2 separate regions of the Homo sapiens genome follow, and region 2 is linked to region 1. Evidence: promoter capture Hi-C in 16 types of primary human blood cells and fetal thymus (Javierre and others, 2016). All regions are on one chromosome and are shown on one strand. Each heading gives the region's core, a stretch centred on a gene start or on the middle of the fragment in contact. The rest is flanking DNA. Distances are from core to core; before and after follow the strand shown.

Region 1 (6,938 bases), core at 938-3,437:
TAAACTAACCAGTCAGGGATAGTACAGGATGCTGCCTGGCATTTACAGGAAAAGGCTTCTGAAACCAGACAACACCTTTCAAATTCTTATACCAACCTCTGGAGTTGGGTGACTTGGCTTCTCCCCTTTCTAGGTCCCGTGACAGCCATCTTGCTATTACTCACCTTCAGTCCCTGTATTTTTAACCTCCTCCTCAAATTTGTTTCCTCCAGGATCAAGGCCATCAAGCTACAGATGGTCTTACAAATGGAACCCCAAATGAGCTTAACTCACAACTTCTACCGAGGACTGCTAGACTGACCCACTGGCCCTTTGACTGGCCTAGAGAGTTCCCCTCTGGAGGACACTACAACGGCAGGGCCCCTTCTTTGCCCCTATCCAGCAGGAAGTAGCTAGAGTGGTCATCACCCAGTTCCCAGTAGCAGGTGGGGTGTCCTGTTATGAGGGAGGATTGAGAGGTGAGGCCAGCTGGACTTCCTAGGTCGAGTGGGGACTTGGGGAACTTTCCTGTCTTACAAGAGAATTGTAAAATGCACCAATCAGCGCTCTGTAAAACGCACAATCAGCAGCATTCTAAAAGTAGCCAATCACGGGGAGGATTGAAAAAAGGGCACTCTGATAGGACAGAAATGGAACATGGGAGAGGACAATAAGGGAATAAAAGCTGGCCACCCCAGCCAGTAGCGGCAACCTGCTGGGGTCCCCTTCCATGCTGTGGAAGCTTTGTGCTTTCGCTGTTCACGATAAACCTTGCTATCACTCACTCTTTGGGTCTGCGCCATCTTTACGAGTGTAACACTCACTGCGAAGGTCCACAGCTCCATTCTTGAAGTCAGCAAGACCACGAACCCACCGACAGGAACCAACTCTGGACACAACTATAGCCTCCAACTCCTGGGCTCAGGCAATCCTTCTGCCTTAGCCTCCCAAGTAGCTGGGGCTACATGCATGCACTAATGTCTAGCTAATTTTATTTTTATTTTTGGAGAGACAGGGTCTTGCTCTTTCACCCAGGCTGGTCTTGAACTCTCAGCCTCAAGTGATCCTCCCACCTTAGCTTCCCAAAGCACAGAGATTACATGCCTTTCCCTCAAGCTACTTGCCATCTCATCTTCCTTACTATATTAAAAGCAAAGGCTCCGGACATGGACTACTGGGGTTGGATTTCTGGCTCTGCTCTTTAACAGCTATGTGATTTGGACAGCTGGTTTCTTTCTGTGCCTCAGTTTCCTCATATGTAAAAGGAGGATATGAACAATGGCTTCCATGCCTGGCCTTCTTTTTCACTTTATAAATAAGTATACTTCTCTCCTTTCTGAATGTGGGAATAATACATTGTTTATAAATTTAGAAGTTGGAAACTACAAAAAAAAAAAACACAAAAAAAAGAGAGAGAGAAAGAAAATCATTACATTATTCCTAATCTCATTTGATGTACTTTGGCCTATTTCTTTCAGGCACTTTTCTGCATGTACCTTTTTTCCATAGCTGAAACCATATTGTATAAATAGCTTCAGATTCTGGTGGGGTGGTTTTTTCATGTAGTAGAACAGGTGTTTTCCCAAGTCCCTGAGCTCTCACTCTGCACACCCCATCTACCATTTCCCAGTGATGTGGCTTTGGGCGGTTGCTGCAGTTTGCTATTACACAAGTAAGCATGCAACCCACACCTGGGGAGAGAACTTTCTTCTCTCCTGAATCTCGGCTCGCATCTTTAAGCGCCACCCCATTAGACAGGAGGCAGCAGAAGCACAAAGCTCCATGAGTAACTCCTCTCCCTTTTGGAAAAGTTCACAGAAAGCAATTTTGGAGACCTTGGCAACGTTTAATTATGAACATTTAGAAAGACAACGGATCTCCTCATATGCACTGGGACTTCAGGGCCAGGTCTTCAGTTTCATGATTCGCATGATTCGCAGGGCTCCGGCACAGGAGCAATCTGAAAGCTGGGCTGCAAGCCCAGCGCGGTCTGCCTCCTGAGGCCCCGACCCACTGCGGCGGCGGCGCTGGGCCCCCTTACCTGGGCAGCGCCAGGGCCTCCTCCGTGCGGCCGAGGACGCCGAACACCGCTGGCAGCGCCAGCACCCCGTCAAGGTCGAAGACGGCCGCGCGCAGCGTCATGGCGGCGGGTCTGCAGCCTAGCACCCGGACACGCAGCTAACCTGGGAGATGCGCGAAGGCCAGGGCGCATGACCCGCCCAGCTTGGCCCGGCTCTGCCCCGCCCCTGCCCTGGCCCCGCCTCCTCCCCACACCCCCTTAACGGGACTCCGCCCTCTGCCCGGGTTAAGGCTGGACTCTGGCCGGGAAAGAGGCAGGGGGAGGGGCACAGGAAAGGGAGTCAGAGGGAGAGGAAGAGGAGGCCGGGAAGGCGGGGACCCCAGGCTAGAATCTCGCCTCTGGATGTAACGCTTTCTACTGTCTCAAAGGAAAGTCCAAAGTCTCTTATGCCCCCTCCCCACGCCCCTGCAGTAGCTGCTTGAAGAGGCAAACCCAGGCCCGGGCCTTCCTGGACGGACTGACAGCTCCCTGCGAACTTGCTGGACTTGGAATGCCTGGGAAAGAGGCCACAGACTCTGTGTGTGTGTGTGTGTGTGTGTGTGTGTGTGTGTGTGTGTGTGTGTGTGTGTGTCAGCACATCCAGTGACTTCTACATTCAGAACATAAGACCGTGTTGGGGGGCGGGGGAGGGGCATATCCAGTGACTTTTCTAGATTCAGAACGAAGGATCACAGATCCCTCACTATCCTGACCACTCCTCTAGGCACGCTCTTCTTTGCCAAGGCAAATGTGTTTCTAGAATAAAATATGATGTTCCAGCTATCGTGTGCCAGCCCAGAATACTTCGATTTCAATCTCTTGTGGAATGAAGCTTAGAAGAACTAAATGTAGGCTATTATTTTCCTTTTGTACATGCTACTTGTAATAATTCTGTCTTAAAATGTGCGAGGTTTGTTTTTAATCACCGATTTCCACACTATTGGCTCGTTTATGTTCCTAGAAAAACTAAAACTTTGGCTGGGAGTTCTTGAGCTGTTGTAGTGCAGCTCCATGAATTAAAAACCGTGTCTTTGGTGGAGACCAAACAGAGTGAGTGAGGTCTCCAACAGTGGAGAATTTACTCTTGAATGTGTCTCTGTGGATTTATCCAAGATACCCTCCACCACGGAGCTTCAAGAACCTTGTGAGGGGTTGTCAGATACCTCACTGTAACTGGGAGGTCTACAACAGTCTCTGGATCTAGCAATCAACAACAGGATTGACCAGAGCCGTGGGTTTCCTCTGGGCTGTTTGCCCTTAGCAAGCTATGCTGTTGCTTCCTTCTCTAGCTTGGTAACCTCTTCCAGGCTCCTGCCTGGAGCAGTTATTAGTGTTTTCTGAGATTCTTGCCAAAGAAGCAGAGAGTGGCCAACACTGCCAAATGTTACAGGAAGAACTGAAAAAAAAGCTGTCCAATTTTGGACTTGGATGACACCGGATGTTTCAGAACACTTTTTGTGGGCCCTTTATGGTAGAAACTGGATTACTCTGGATTTGAAGACTGAAAGATAGGCAGAGAAGGGAGTACAGCAAGCTAGTTTCTCATGAAGTTAGTTGATCTCAAAGGTATAATTGAATTTTAAAAAATAGAAAGAAAATTGCAGCCTGACCTATATAGTATGAAACCTGTTAAATCTCCAGATTGGGCATGGTGGCACACACCTGTAATCCCAGCACTTTGGGGCTGAGGTGGGAGAATTGCTTGAGGCCAGGAGTTTGAGACAAGCCTGGGCAACAAAGCAAGACATTCTCTCTATAAAAAATAAAAATAAAATATTAGCTAGGCATGGTGGTGCATGCCAGTAGTCTCTGCTATTCAGGAGGCTGAGGTGGGACGATCACTTTAGCCCAGGAAGTGGAGGCTGCAGTGAGCCATGATTGTGCCACTGCACTCCATCCAGCCTGGGTGACACAGCAAGACTCTACCTCCAAAAAAAAAAAAGAAAGAAATTAAATCTCCAACTTAGAGTTTCCTTTGGGCTCCAGACTTGCCAACTTCTTACTCAACATCTTACTCAACGTCAATATCCAACTTCTTACTGAACATCTTCTCTTGAGTGTCTAACAGGCATCTCAAATTTATCATGGCTAAAACAGAACTCTCTCTGCATTTCTACTTCCCACGCCTGTTCCTCCTAGTGTGTTCCCTATCTTACAAACTGGCATCCCCATTGACTCAGTGGCTCAGTCCCGAGACCACGGAGTTGCTTCCAGATCCTTGGCTCCCAGCCAAACCATATGTTCGTGTTTCTAGCGGTGGCCTGCTGATTGAGGCAGAGATAGCAGCTTCTAGTTCTATGGTGGTGTTTTCTGGGAGTCCTTCCTAAAGGCTCAGTCTGGAGCTCACTCCTCCATTCCGTTCAAAGATTGTGTAGGCTTGCAGTCTCTCATCTTAAATCCCTTTCTTCTGTTTCTATTTAAAATAACTACAGTGATTTCTGTTGCCTGCATCTGAATTCTGCATCTAGCACAGTATTGCTTATGAATACGTAAGTATATTTATACAAGCAGTAAAGTGTAGAGGAACGACATACCTACAGAACTAGATTTCATAAAGCCCCCTTTTGAGAAGAAAAATTTAAAAACATAGAAATATGAGTTTTACTTTCCTCTTTGGTTAAGAGAAAGCCATGAAGCTATCACATGGACTTTTATTTATTCAGGAGCAGTTAACTTGTAAATAGCTCTGGTGTGGAATATTTTTATAATGCCTTGTGAGTTACAGAGCTTTCTGGCTGAATTGCTTAGGCAAAGATTAAAGGTCTCAATTGCATTTCACTGCACTTTGCCCTTTTTCATGGTCGTGCTTCTCCTGTGTTTTCTGCTACTAAGGTACAGAGAGATAAGGGCTTACCCAGCAGGGCTATGGGAACTGGGTGGCTTTTTGAAATGTAAATCCTAACCCCTATGTCTTCTAATTTTAATATTTATGAAATATGTTTTAGGTGATAGCATGAATCATAAAAGATGGCTAATGTAGTAGTGAAAATTTATAAATTACACCTGATTTCAATCACTAAATTCATAATGAATGTACACTGACCTCATTAAGGTTTATTTTGGGTTTTCTGCCATTCCTGTGCCTTCTGCAACTTCCTGCTAGTCCTTGATTGTCAAACCCTATTTTATAAAATCTGTTTAACCACTAGGGGTTGGGAGGGAGGACTTTACACTGCTGCTTCTCTCTACTGTAGATACTCATGGAGTTCAAAGTAAAGCTACCTCTGGCAGTTTTCTAAACCTACAAACCACTTGAAGTTTTGTCTTTTTTTCAATGCGGCAAATGAACGAGCGTCTTTCATTCCATCAGCAAATATGTATCAAGCATCTTCTATGTGCCAGGCACTGTTCTAGGCACTTGGGATCAATTGTTAAATAAATCAGACAAATATAGGGGCCGTCAAGGATCTTCCATTTTAGTGGAATAATGAATTCAAATGGTAGTGGCTGGTGGCTTCTGGAGCAGTGAGAAGAATGAGATTGGGAATAGTGGTGGTGGCTACTTGCCGTTTTTCTTATTTGTCATTTTCCAGCTTCCTAACATCTATAACCTTTTCTTACATACAGAAAATTCCAGCCGGGCATGGTGGCTCACACCTGTAATCACAGCACTTTGGGAGGCTGAGGTGGGTGGATCACCTGAGGTTAAGAGTTGGAGACCAGCCTGGCCAACATGGGGAAACCCCGTCTCTATTAAAAATACGAAACTTATCTGGGCGTGGTGGCACACACCTGTAATCCCAGCTACTTGGGAAGCTGAAGCAGGAGAATTGCTTGAACCCGGGAGGCAGAGGTTGCAGTAAGCCAAGATCATGCCACTGCACTCGCAGCCTGGGCAACAGAGCAAGACTCTGTCAAAAGAAAGAAAAGAAAAGAGAAGAGAAGAGAAGAGAAAAGAGAAGAGAAGAGAAGAGAAGAGAAGAGAAGAGAAGAGTAGAGTAGAGAAGAAGAGAAAATTCCATCTGGCAGTGATGAAGTTCTGCTTCAGAGATACACAACATCCTTTCAACATCTTCTATTTTGATAGTTCTCACTGTTTGAGAACTACTACTGTTTTGAGTTCTACCTTCTCACAGTAGAATCCACAAACAACATGTTGCCCAGGCTTCCTTAATGCTGGCCAGGTGCACGGGCTCTGCCAATTGGGCATACTCGCCAGGGATTTGGGAATGGGGATGGGCAGCCCAAAGCCACAGCTGTGTGAGCGGGAACTTTCTTTCAGCGAAGGCAGAAGCAGCAGCATCTAGTTTTTCTGGGGAGGCTGTGATGGAGCTTCTCTGGTCTGGTCCTGAGTGTACTTGGTGCCCACGCTGGGGCAGAGTGGTGGCTTTGTTAAAATTGCACCAAGGGGTGGCCTGCGGTCACTGTGCTGTTCTTGGCTATATAGTTTCCAAAGCTGCATCTCTTGTCCTCCCTGAGATTCTGTGTGTTAATGTCCTATAATAAGAACCTTTCTGCTTATATGACCGAGAGGAAGCTCTGTAGTTTGTAATAAAAACCCTATAACGCATACCGGCCTTATGAATGTTGATAGAAGGAAGAACCGCATTGACTGCAGAATTTGGAAATGCCCTGTGCCCACTCCCCAGCCTGCCTGGAAGTGAGAGTGAAGGCCTGTGAGCTCCATTCAGCAACTCAGGTGCACCAACCCAGCCCTTACAGTGGGAGCAGGTGAAGGAAACAGGCCAGAGGAGAAGGGTGTCGGTCGGCAGTTTCAAGGGCAGCAGCAGCAGCGGCCAGGGTCCCTGGCTGGCAGGGACGGTGCAGGCCCCGAGGCCCTCAGCGCCCAACTGCAGCAGTGGTGTCTTCACAAGTCCAGTTCTGTGCTATGAGTTTGGCAATGACCTTGCTCTTGTTTTCCAGGCTTAGTTCTCCAAGCTCCCAAGGGCCCTCACTGATA
Region 2 (7,395 bases), core at 2,921-5,420, 190 kb after region 1:
TGACTGGGCAGGTGGTTAACTGAACATCTACTTTGTGCAGGGACTTGGACATGCAGGGGACAAAACAAAGTCTCTCACCTTGCAGAGCAAGCATTCCTTCTGCAGAAGTGTACCGAGCACCACTATGCAAGGTAGAGAGGACCTGGAGGTTAAGACCTGCCCTCAGGAAAGAGAAGCTATTACCCTGGATAGTGAGTGCTGAGACAGAGGTGGCCAGGGTGCTGTGATGCCCTGGAATGGAACCTGAGCTGGCAAGATCGGGGGGCTTCCTGGAGGAAATGAGGGGTACTAGAGCCGAGTTTTCAAGGTGATGTTGGGTTAGTTGGGGGAAGCAGGTGGGAACCAGGCAGAGCAACAGTGTGTATCAAGTCTCACAAGACAGAAAACCTGGCTCAGGCCAGACAGAGCTGGTTTCACATGCAACTCTAGCACTTTGGTAAGTCCTTGCAAAGAGGCTATGAAGACCTTGTGCAATGAAATTCATTCTTTCCCTTGCCCCTACCTTCCTGCTTCCAGCTATACCACAGAGCACCTGTCCTGTTAATGAAAATTGTGGGTAACGTGATTTTGTAAAGTGCTTAAGATCTTCAATATGCAATTGAAATTTGTTGCTTAAGGAATCAACTTGTCATTTTTGGGAAATCATGTAGTCTATATGATCACATTCTGGATCCTTTAGTATGAATAAAAACCTATTTTGTGTGTGTTTATAACTAATCTTTAACGTAGGCTGGACGCGGTGGCTCATGCCTGTAATCCCAGCATTTTGGGATGCCGAGGCGGGCGGATCACCTGAGATCAGGAGTTCAAGACCAGCCTGGCCAACATGGTGAAACCCTGTCTCTACTAAAAATACAAAAATTAGTTGGGCATGGCGGCAGGCACTTGTAATCCTAGCTACTTGGGAGGCTGAGGCAAGAGAATTGCTTGAATCTGGGAGACAGAGGTTGCAGTGAGCCGAGATTGCGCCACTGCACTCTAGCCTGGACAAGAAGAATGAGACTCTATCTCAAAAAAGTAAAAAATATAAAATAAATAAATAAAAAATCTTAATGTTATAATGTGATGCTAACATCGAAGCTTGTTTGCTCTCCTGAGCTTGGGCTGGGGGATGCTCCAGATCTGTTGTGGGCCCCTGCTACTGCCCATCTCTGCTCATTCATGTGCTCCTTGGGCTACAGGCAGGCCCCTTGAGTGGTAGTTCTATTTGTAATCTAAGCATATTTAGGGTTAAAATTAATACCAAAAGCAAACAAAATAATATTGTTTAGATGCATTCAAATTCACACTTCTTACATGTCATATTTCCTAGGTGAACCACTAGATGCACAGAAGGGGAAAATGGAATAAAAAATGTGTAGTAAATTTTAAAAAAGGAAAGGAAGAAAAAGAAAAATAGAATAAGCAAGACAAATAGCTCAGAACAAGGTGGCAGATTTAAATGCAAACATATCGGTAATTATGTGTTAAATACTCCAGTTAAATGAAAATGTTGATCTGACTGGATAAGAAAACGAAACCTAATTCTGTGTTGCTTAATATAATTATCTCAGTGAGAAAACATTTGATAAAATTTACCATCTTTTTGTGTTTAAAAAAACAGGAAACTAGAAATGGAAGGAATTTCATTAGTTTGATTAAGTATATCTAGCAAAAAAACTTACAGCAAATATCACATTTAATGGCAAAACATTGAAAGCTTTCTTATTGAGATCAAGAAAAAGACAGGAATGCGCATTATGACCAACTCTATTCAGTTTTGTGTGGGATAGCCTTGTCAATGAAGTAAGCCAATAATTATAAATAAAAGATGTAAGGTTTGGAAAGAAGGGAAGCAAAACTGGCATGTGTAGATAATATGGTTGCATATTTTTGCACTGAGATTTCTATGTGTAGAAAATAAAGATTCTACAGTTAAATCATAAGTATTAATAAGTTTAGGTGAATGCTGAATCCAAAATCAAGATGCAAAACCAGTTGTATTTCTATGTATCACTAGCAAATAGAAAATAAAATATAGGCAGGGAGTTTTACACCTGTAATCCCAGCACTTTGGGAGGCTGAGGCAGGAGGATCGTTTGAGCCAAGGAGTTTCAGACCAGCTTGCACAACATAGTCCAGCCTGTCTCTACAAAAAGTTAAAACAAATTAGCCAGGTGTGGTGGTGCATGCTTGTAGTCCCAGCTACTTGGGAGGCTGAGGTGGTGGGAGGATCACTTGAGCACAGGAGGCTGCAGTGAGCTATGATTGTGCTACTACTGCACTGCAGCCTGGGTGACAGAGGGGGACCCTGTTTTGGGTTTTTTTAATTTAAAAATATGTTTACAATAATATAAAAAATAAGATAACTAGGAAGAAATTAATAAAAGATACGCAAAACTCTGATAGGGAAAAATATACTTCGTTGAGAGCTATCAAAGAACATTAAGTAACTGGTGTGATATATTATGTTCGTGGATTAGTAAAGTCAGTATTTAAGCCTTTCAGTTTTCCCCAAATTGATCTATAGAGACAATATTGTACTAATCTAAATCTCAACATGATTATTTTTATGCAACTTCACAGATTCTAAAATTTATATGACCCTCAAAGGGCCAAAAATTGCCAAGACATTCTTGAAGAGAAACCTATCAGAAATCCTCTCTTTTTTACAGCTATAGAAATTATGGCTGTGTGATGTTGGCACAAGGATAAACAGATGGGCCAGAGAAACAGATGGAGAGAACCAAAAAACAGATCTGTGTCTGATTTAAGACAGAGGTGGCTCTGCAGACCAGTGGGCAGTAATGGTCTTTTTAAATAATGGTGCTGAGACAATGAGCTACCTGGTCACACCATGTGCAAAAATAAACTCCAGGTATCCACATCAGACCTAAATGTGAAAGGAAAGCTATAAAGCTTTGAGAAAATACTACAGAGCTATACAATAATAATGCAAAGCTATAAAGCTTTGAGGAAATAATACGATTGTTTTTGTGATCTCAGTGTAGGGAGGTGTTTCTTAAAACTAGTATACTAATCCTAAAGGAAAAGACTAATAAATTTGGCCATATTTCAATTAAGAAAGATAAATGATGAAGTAGAAAATATTCATTACACCTCTAACTAATCAAGGACATACATTGTGTATATATAATAAATTCCCACAAACCAGTTAGGAAAATGGCAGGCAACGCAATGGAAAAATGGACAATACTTTACTGAGTACTTAAAAATAAACATTGAAGTGGTCAATAAACATTTTCTATTAACATTGCTCTTGCTGTAAAAATTGGTACCACTGCTTTGGAAAACAATTTGGCATTACGCAGTAAAGTGAAGACACATATGGTGGCCCAGCAGTTTTATCCCCAGGAATATATTATGAAGAAACGAGTTCCCATGTGTCCCCAGGAGACATGTACAAGAAGGTTACCTCCTCTGGGTCTAACTTGATCCTCTGTATAATGGGACTCACAGTGCTTAACCTTATAGGGAGAATTCGAATTAAATAATTGAATTAAATAGAATGTTTGTAAAGTGCATAATTTAGTGCCTTGTGTCTAGTACATGCTTAATAGTAACTGCTTGCTAGCAATAGTAATATAATTGTTGGTTAGTCTCATCAGCTGACATCTCAGAGAAGGGCCATTTTAGGATTGGTCTTTTCTGAAGGAAACCAGAACTCTCCAAGTGATTGAAAAGTTTGAGAAGATCAAGGGACTATCCCCTTCCCATCCTTATTGTCCCATAAATTCCTAAGGGCCAGGGTTGAAGGGCAGGGGCTGAACTGTGTTGTTTTGGGGCCTGCACACCTTTGGGTAATGCGTATGGACAGCTGCTTCACTCCTGTCACTTAACTAATTTGGCAAATCACTAAATTTTCCTTTTGAACTGTATTACATGATTTTGTATCAAAAATCTCATTCTATAAAATAAAACATTGGAATGACATTTCAGTGGTTTTGTGGGGGCACTCATGCAAATTAGAGATGATATACTACAGAAAACAAAGTTTAAAAATCTTAAATATTGTCACTTAAGATTAAAAGATCAAAATGAGTTGAAAATAAAACAGAACTGCAGAAAATGAAATCAGTAACCATTTTGTTTTCTGTAGTGAAAGACTTAAAGGAATGGGCTACTGAGTGGGACAAATGGGCTAGTTCTCTATTTCCTAGCAAATTGCCCCAAAACTTAGTGCCTTAAAACAAACATTAATTATCTTTGAGTTTCTTTGGGTCAGGAATTGGGCCTGCCTTAGCTCTGGGTGCCTCTGCCTCAAGGTGTCTCATGAGGGGCTGCAGTCAGGGTTCTGTGGGCTAGTTCTAACCAATGGGCTAGTTCTCTATTTCCTAGCAAATTGCCCAAAACTTAGTGCCTTAAAACAAACATTTATTATCTTTGAGTTTCTGTGGGTCAGGAATTGGGCCTGCCTTAGCTCTGGGTGCCTCTGCCTCAAGGTCTGTCATGAGGGGCTGTAGGTATGGAGCTGTGGTCTCATCTGAAGGCTCAGCTAGGGCAGGATCCTTATTTACACTCACATTTGTAGTTGTTGGCAGGATTCAGGTCTTCACGGGCTGTTAGCCTGAGAGCCTGAGTCCCTCACTGGCTGTAGGTCAGAAGCCACTCTCAGTTTCTTGCCCCAGCAGTCACTCCCAGGGCAAATTACCACATGGGCAGCTGGCTACCATCCCAGTGAGCAAGCTAGAGAGAGGAAGGCAGGGTGTACACAGCCTTTGTCGCCTAACCTCAGAGGTGACTTAGTATCACTTGCCACATTCTTTTGGTTAGAAACAAGTCACCCACAGAGGAGGGGATTTCACAAGAGCATGAGTATCAGGAGGTGAGGGTCACTGGGGCCACTTTAGAGGCTGCCTGCCTGAATCTGTCCTTTGCCCCATAAGGAGTCATGTCCCTCCCACATGCAAAATGCACTGGCCCTCTCCCAAGCTCTCCAAACATCTCATCCCTTTACAGCATCAGCCCAAAGTCCAGATTTGTCATCTAAATCAGGTCCAGATGGGAATGAGGCTTTGGGCGACACATCTGTATAATTTATTGCTGCATATCCAGTCACCCCGACATTTAGCAGCTTAAAACACTCTCATCTCACAGGAGGGAGGGATCACTGGGTGCTGTCTCAGCAGCTGCCTCCATAGCTGTCCAGGTTCACGTCCTTCCACATACTAGCTGTGTGCCCTTGGGCTGGTCATTTCCCTTCTGTGCCTCACTTTCTCATCTATAAATGGGGCCAATAATATTACTTATCTACTAGGGAGAAGTAATGATTAAATGACATAATTTCTCAAGTAATTGGTGTTGTCCCTGGCACAGAGTAAGTACTGAATAAATGATAACCATTTATAATTATTTGAATTATTTTTCTTAAGAAAAAACTTGAGAAGCTTTCTGAGAATGTAGATCGAAAAGGATAATGAGGGAGAAAAAATGATAGGCCTAAGATACAAGAGGCAGGAATCCAACCTAAAACACTCTAGTGGTTCTTCAAGTTGTCCAAGGACATCAGAAACAATCATTAAAGTTTAAGAAACAAAAACTACTAAACCAAAAGTATTTGTGCCTGCTGATTAAAGTATTCCGTGCGATACAAGCAGTGTTAGAATGTCAGGATGCAGGAGGGGTATGGAGGGGCATGTTGGGCATGTTGAGGTGAGGCCTCATGGGAGGTAACTGAACCCCGTGGGAAATGACTGGCTCCACCCCCATTGTCAGTCACCTCACATTAGAGATTGCAGACCCATTCAGTTTAGGAAACTGCAGAGGGAACCTATGACCACACTGTCTGCAGTTGTCCACACAGCTCAGGGATTCAGACCCAGCATGAACCAGCTTTTGGCCCACATGGGACACTCTTCTGGCCTGTGCTGTGACCAACATGAGAGAGAGCAGCTTGCTTCTTCTCAGCCCCATCTCCCAGTCTGTACCAGGCTGGGCTACAGGATGTCTGAGGGCTCTTTATCCCATGGATGTCTGATTCAGGATCAGGACCTTACTTACCATTTGTGCCCAGAGCACTTGGCATGGATGGGGTTAGGCAAATGCAGTTGAGTTACACTTGTGTTGAAGTGGAGTCCCAGTTGTAAATGTGATGTGTCTGCCCTCTCTGCCCAGCCTCCAGCCCTAACCTGTCTTCCTCCCTCTCTCTCATTCCCATGTCAGGCCAAGTGCAGGAACATGGAGCATGCACTGCGGGAGAAGGCCAAGGCCTTCTGGGCCATGCGGCGCTCCTATGAGGCCATCGCCAAGCACAATCAGGTGAGCGAACGATGGGGCCAAGTGGGAAGATTGGGTCCACTCAGGGCAGTCTGGGGAGGAGTGAAGATGTGTCAGCCGTGGCTTTGGCTCACATAACCCGCTGGGTAGAGGTCGGCTGCCTTACCTCTGATGGTCCTGTGCAGCCACGTCCTGGATGCTGACTGTGGCTTCTCTGCCTTGGCCCCTCTAAAGACCCAGGCGTGGTCATGCCAGCAGCCACAGGAGTGACTTAAAAAGCTACCAACACCATCTGCACTATGGCACATGCATCATATCACTGCCACCTGTGTGTTCAATGATGACCTGGGACTCATGTACTTTCTTGTTTTCTTTCAGTTCCCACATCCACTCCATCAGCAATCCTATTCCCCTATCTCCAAAGTATGTTATTTCTGTAAAACCCTCCACCTTTTGGTCCAGGTCATCATCATCTCTCACTGGGCCTCCTGCCTAGGGCCTCATGCTTTCATTCTTGTGCATTCTCCTTTCCATGGACTGGGGTGATCGTTTAGAAAAAAACACCAGCCGTGCCCCTCCTCTGCTTAAAACTGCCAGTGGCTTCCAGTCACCCTCAGTACCACCCAGATTCCTTACCATGGCCTCCAAGGCCATCTCCTGACCCTGCCTATCCTCAACCTCATTTACTTCTCTGCCTCACCTTCTTTCTGTCCCTTAAGCAAACTAAGTCTTCTCCCCAGAACACATGCCCAGCATCTTTGCCATTAAAATCTCAGCTCAGATGTTCTCTTAAAGAAGCTTTTCCTGATCATCCTCCTCTTTTACTCGATGGCATAATTTCCTGGTTTATTTTCTTAATGACACTTCATTACCTGTAATTACCTTTTGTTTTCTATTTGCTTTTTATCCCTTCCTGTCAAAATATAATGAAAACAGGGCACACTATTGCCAGTTATCTAGAGGAGTTCTTGGCACACAATAGGTGACCAATAAAAATTGTTGATTGAATGAGTGAAGTGGGTAGGTGACCAATAACTGTTAATCAAATGAATGAGTGGGCTCCCTCTGTCCCCATTCTGGTTGTTCTGCCTGGCACCCTCTCTTCCTCCAGGTCCTGTGTGGATTGGCAACCTTGTTTCTGACTGTTGATCTTGGCTCTGGTCTTTGGCTTTCTGAAGT

The links. Contacts are between HindIII fragments. The CHiCAGO score rates a contact against its expected background, and 5 or more counts as called.
Region 2: a fragment that was not itself captured here is called in contact with the fragment with the promoter of EPHX2 in region 1 in 1 of 17 cell types (monocytes); the score reaches 5.2 in monocytes.

Annotation. Positions count from the first base shown.
Region 1 is chr8:27,486,392-27,493,329 of GRCh38, reverse strand. EPHX2 (epoxide hydrolase 2) reads right to left here and starts at 2,187. Exons shown (of 19, transcript NM_001979.6): 1 at 2,021-2,187. The coding sequence starts at 2,121. RefSeq lists a silencer at 2,104-2,383 and a cis regulatory region at 4,130-4,444. The HindIII fragment of the contact is 2,149 bases long and covers 724-2,872 here.
Region 2 is chr8:27,297,327-27,304,721 of GRCh38, reverse strand. It overlaps TRIM35 (tripartite motif containing 35), which reads left to right. Exons shown (of 6, transcript NM_171982.5): 2 at 6,163-6,258. Among named protein-coding and RNA genes, the nearest start is that of TRIM35, 10 kb to the left of the region's middle. The HindIII fragment of the contact is 2,439 bases long and covers 2,951-5,389 here.